Linked DNA regions of Homo sapiens: region 2 is linked to region 1. The links are contacts of gene promoters, found by promoter capture Hi-C in human tissues and cell types (Jung and others, 2019). All regions are on one chromosome and are shown on one strand. The core of a region is centred on a gene start or on the middle of the fragment in contact, and the rest is flanking DNA. Distances in the headings are between cores, read along the strand shown. Region 1 holds the start of RBPJL (recombination signal binding protein for immunoglobulin kappa J region like). Region 2 has its middle 8.2 kb from the start of PCIF1.

Region 1 (2,700 bases), core at 156-2,655:
GGAGGAGCTGGCTGCAGAGGGAGGACCTGCTTCCGCTCCCCTCCTCCCACTGGTGAGGGCTGGGCCCCAGTTCACCTGTCAACTGGAGCTGGGTTTCCCAGGGCTGAAGAAGGAGCAGCAACACGGGCCAGCAAAGAAGGCCTCTCATGGCGCTTGGGGACAGAGAATGGAGGTGTCAGAGCCTGGAGGGAGGAAGGAAAATAGAAAAGCAACAGTATTTACAGAGCTCTTATTCTGGGTGATAGGCACTTGGAGGGGGAAGACAGTTACAGGTTTATTTTACTAATCTCTCTATTTTTGTGTATGTTTGAAATGTTTCAGAATTAAAAAATTCTCATCACAGTGGGATTGCTGGGAAACACAAGAGATTCTTTTTTTTTTTTTTTTTAGATAGAGTCTTGCTCTGTCGTCCCGGCTGGAGTGCAGTGGCATGATCTCGGCTCACTGCAACCTCTGCCTCCCAGGTTCAAGCGATTCTCCGGCCTCAGCCTCCCGAGTAGCTGGGATTACAGGCTCCTGCCACCACACCTGGCTAATTTTTTGTATTTTTAGTAGAGAGCGGGTTTTGCCATGTTGGTCAGGCTGGTCTCAAACTCCTGACCTCAGGTGATCCTCCCACCTCGGCCTCCCAGAATGCTGGGATTACAGGCGTGAGCCACCGCGCTCGGCCCACAAGAGAATGGTAAATAAGAATAGATACATAGATACAAATATGCAAAATTTAAACAGAAAAAAACAGGTCTTCCTTAAATGTCAGGCACAGTGTTAAATGCTCTTCACGCATTGTGGCATTTAATCCTCTCTGCAATTGTAAGACTAAGGCTGTGATTGTCCCCCATCATACAGACAATGAAATTGAGGCTCAGAAAAGTTAAGCGCTGGTACCCAAAGTCATTCGGCCAAAAAGTGGCTGCGGCAGGATACAATCCCACGCCTGCTAGTTTCTGTGAGCCAGCCTGGGCGTTTGGTGCCTCTCCTCCTGCCAGGCGAACCTCTGCAGACAGAAGCCCTTCCCCACCTCGGCCCACTCCCCTACGCACACAGGCTTCTGTGTGGCTGTCTTTGCAACTCGCCAACCCCCCCAGACCCCTCCACACACACAAACACAGACATGCACTGCCCAACCGCAGGCGGCAGGGAGGGGCTGCGCCCTGTTGCGGGGCTGAGCGTGGTGGCGTGGCAGCGAGTGGACCAAAACCCACTGCGCACGAGAACGCGCGGCTTGGCGCCTGTTTCCCGCCTGCTCTCAGGAGCGACCGCCAGGGGGCGCCCGAGATGGCAGGGGGCGTGGGAAGCCCACATCTGCCCAGCAGGTGCGCCCACCCCGAGCAAACAGGGGGCCGGGGCCCGGGGCCTTGGAGATAAGGCCTGGACAGGATATAACCCGCGCAAGAGCCGAGGAGCAGGGGTGTGCAGGGTTCCAGCGACAGCAGCACTGGACTCGTCCAGAGGGCGGCGGGTGAGCGGCTGGGGCCCCGTGGAGCCACCATGGACCCCGCAGGGGCAGCAGGTGAGCGCTTACCCTCCCGAGGCCCCGGAGACGCCCCGTGAGAACTACGAAGGACCACCCCCCCACCCCCTCCCCACTATACAAATAGGAAAACTAAGCCCCAAGGAGGCAGCCCGCCGAACTGCAAAAGCAGGATTAGAACCTAGGGCTCCTGGTTCCCCTTCTCTCTCTTGAGGCCCCCTGGCGCCTAGAATTCACTAAACCTCATTTCCTTCCAGCTCCTACCCCACCGCCGCGCCCCATGCTGAAGCTGTGTTAGCCATTTTTCTGTTGCTGTTTCTTGGCAGAGAGGGCCAGCTGCCCCTAACCCAACAGCAGCTCCGCCCCCGCCCCCCAATTCCGTGAATGCGCCTATTCTGAGCGAGGCCAGTGCCTGCTTCTCACTCCAGGCGACCTTCTCATCCCGGATTCTTCTCCCTTTTCCCCTCCCAGGCCTGGTAGAAGAACATAAATCCTCTGGCAGGGCCCGTCGTGGGAGGGTGACCAAGCAAGATGTGGCAGCGCTGGTGGAAGTGGGAGGGCGGGGAACCCTTGTCAAGCTTGGGCCACAGGCAAAGCCAACATCCCTGGACAGCATGAGGGCTAAGGCACAAGGGGCCTCTGCCACCTCCCATACTTTCCTACCCGGAGATGCCTCTGGGCCCCTAAATCTTGGTTAAGGTTCCCCTCATCCCATTCTTGGTCTGAGCCAACTTCTCACCTGGCACCCTGCCTCCACCCCAGGAATCCTAGAAAGTCAAAATAGCAAATGCCTCAAAGTTCATCACCTTTCCAAACCCCTCATTCTACAAAGAAAGGAACTAGGTCCAGAGAGGGTAGTGTCTTGCTGAAGGGTACATGGCGATGTCGTGGCAGGACTGATACTAGAACCTGGGATTCCTCTGAGGAGTTAATCCTTGCATTAAAAAAAGAAAGATTCAGAGATGCCCTGAGGTGAGGTTGAGGGAGTGGAGCAGCAAGGGAGGAGAGGCCTGTAAATAAATTCTCAAAAGTCCCTTAGGGACATTTCAGGGGGTTCCTGGAGGGATGAGAGTAGAAAAGGGATGATCCTATTTTGATGGCTTTGAGGGTGGGGGCTCGATTTGGAAAGGACCCTGCAGAAGTGGGGAAGGGCACTGCAAATCAGATAGGGCACCCTAGGCAGCGTCTCTGCTAAAATACACTCGCCTGACCTGGCTTGATGCCTACTC
Region 2 (2,700 bases), core at 35-2,534, 620 kb after region 1:
TTGATATGACCAAACGCCGCCTGGGATGCTGAGCACTAACCCAGAGCAAGGACTGAATTTGGACTCCAGGGTCCTGGTAGGACCTGCACCTCCCTTGCTCCCTGGCTGTGCTCAGGTTGACCAGCTCTCCAAACACACCCTCCCTTTCTATACCTCCAGGCCTTGGCACACGCTGTGCCCTCCCCTTTTCCTTGCCTACCTGGAAAATCTATTTTTCCAATAAGAATCTGTTCATTGTCATCTCCTCTGAAGCTTTCTCCTTTGTGTGCCCACCACCCCCAGCCCCTGCCATCCCTCCAGAGCCCTCATCTCCCTGTGGCAGAGGGTTCATGTATATGTCTGCCTCCCACACTGCTCTGTGGGCTCCCTAAGACAAACCGTCTGTCCGTCTTACTTATCGCTTATTCTCAAGACTCTAGGACAGGCCAAGGGAAGAAATGGAGGGAATAGTACACCACATCAGACGCTTCCAAGGCCAGGAAGACCAAGGGAGACGCCCCCATTCCTCTCATCTATTCTTGGCCTAAATGGCTTCTCTCATCTGGTCCCAGAATGGCCCAAGAGCCACTCCCTGTGGGAACCACAGTTTGGGGTGGAAGCCTCCTTTCCACAGCTTTCCGGGGGCCAGACCCACTTGCCTTGGAAACTCCCTTTGCATAATTTAAACTGCAGTGTAGGGTCCATGGCCAGCTCAAGCCCAGCCTAGGCGGGGGCAACCTGGAGTGGGATCCAGCTAGAGTCTCCCTTCCCCAGCTGCCAGGACCTCAGGGGATGAAAGTTCCCTCTCAGCAGCTTCTTGCTGCAGTGGCAGAGAACAAGGGGGTTAAGCTATGTGGCAACCTGAGCTGGTTGTTTATGTTTCTGCTTTAGTGTGGAGGCTTGGCTTTGTCCGGAGTTGAGGCAGGGGTCCTCAGAGGCCCTGGCAGCTAGTGACCAGCCAGGAGTGGTGACATAATTTTCAGGGCTAGGGCCGGACATGATGGGTCACGCCTGTAATCCCATCACTTTGGGGTGCCAAGGTGGGTGGATCACCTGAGGTTGGGAGTGTGAGACCAGACTTGCCAACATGGTGAAACCCCATCTCTACTAAAAATCTAAAAATTACCTGGACCCAGTGGCACGTGCCTGTAGTCCCAGCTACTGGGGAGGCTGAGGCAAGAGAATTGCTTGAACCTGGGAGGGGGAGGTTGCAGCGAGCCGAGATTGCACCACTGCACTCCAGCCTGGGTGACAGAGCAAGACGCTGTCTCAAAAAACAATATTCAGGGCTCAGGGCAAAATGAAAACGTGGGACTTTTGTTCCAAAATTATTAAGATTTTTAAGATGGTGACAGTAGAACATTAAACCAAACACAGACTTTTCTTTTTTATTATTATTTTTATTTTCATCTTGTTTTTATTTTTTGAGACAGGGTCTAGAGTGCAGTGGTGCAATCATGGCTCACTACAGCCTCGAACTCCTGGACTCAAGCAATCACCCCCTGCGTCAGCCTCCCAAGTAGCTAGGACTGCAGGAGCACCTACTATGCCCAGCTAATTATTACTATTATTATTTTATGTAGAGATGGGGTTCTATGTTGCACATGCTGGTCTTGAACTTTTGGCCACAAGCAATCCTCCCACTTTGGCATCCCAAAGTGCTGGGATTACAGGCATGAGCCTCCACACCCAGTAAGCATGGGCCTTTCTAAATCTATGCAGCCGGCCCTGGTGCCAGGGAGAGGAGCCCAGCTTATTCCAACCACCTCTCTCAGCCCAGACCTATTGTCTACCCAGGCTTCTTAGTTCAGAAAAGTAGCTGGAGAAATGGAAAGCCTTAGGATCTTTGCTCAACTGCTCATCCCTATATTGGGAATAAAAGACTCCAGGCTACTGACAGAGACTCGGCCACAGCAGGCAGCCCACAGGGTGCTGCCTTGGTGTTCCCACCACAGAAACCAGAGCCTGGAATAGAAACGGGGATACCTGGCCAGGCACAGTGCCTCACGCCTGTAATCCCACCACTTTGGGAGGCCGAGGCAGGCAGATTGCTTGAGGTCAGGAGTTCGAGGCCAGCCTGGTCAACACGGTGAAACCCCCATCTCTACTAAAAACACAAAAATTAGCTGGGCCTGGTGATGTGTGCCTTTAGTCACAGCTACTCCGGAGGCTGAGGCAGGAGAATCGCTTGAATCCTGGAGGCAGAGGTTACAGTGAGCCAAGATCACACCACTGCATTCCAGCCTGTGCGACAGAGGGAGATCCTGTCTCAAAAAATAAATAAATAAACGGGCTACCTGAAAAAGCCACCTAGACTTCAACCCAGAGTGGTCTGTTCATGGTCATCAAATATTTACAGAGGGTCAGGCACAGTACTGAGCATGGGGTTACAAGGGTGAATAAGCCCCAGGCCCCACCCTTAAGCAGCGCACAGCCTAGTGGATGAGGAAAATTGACAAACATTATGAGCTTAGACCATTGTGGTAGTACAAGAGAGGGAACCTGTCCTAGCCGGGGTAGAAGGAAGTTCAGGGAAGGCTGCCTGGTGGAGGCGACATCTAGGCTAAGACTCGAAGGCTGAATTAGGTCAAGAGGGGAAGAAGAGTAAGGGCAAACAGCATATGCAGAGACTCAGGAGCTGGACACGGTGGCTCATGCCTGAAATCCCAACACTTTGGGAGGCTGAAGCAGGAATATTCCTTGAGGCTAGGAGTTTGAGAC

Evidence for each region. Contacts are between HindIII fragments. The study calls those that stand out against the background at their distance.
Region 2: a fragment that was not itself captured here is called in contact with the fragment with the promoter of RBPJL in region 1 in 1 of the 25 tissues and cell types used here (dorsolateral prefrontal cortex).

Annotation. Positions count from the first base shown.
Region 1 is chr20:45,305,435-45,308,134 of GRCh38, forward strand. RBPJL (recombination signal binding protein for immunoglobulin kappa J region like) reads left to right here and starts at 1,406. Exons shown (of 12, transcript NM_014276.4): 1 at 1,406-1,510. The coding sequence starts at 1,489. MATN4 (matrilin 4) reads right to left here. Exons shown (of 10, transcript NM_001393530.1): 2 at 76-182. The coding sequence starts at 148. The HindIII fragment of the contact is 4,763 bases long and covers 1-2,583 here.
Region 2 is chr20:45,925,156-45,927,855 of GRCh38, forward strand. No RefSeq gene overlaps it. Among named protein-coding and RNA genes, the nearest start is that of PCIF1, 8.2 kb to the right of the region's middle. RefSeq lists an enhancer at 2,155-2,449. The HindIII fragment of the contact is 6,331 bases long and covers 1-2,700 here.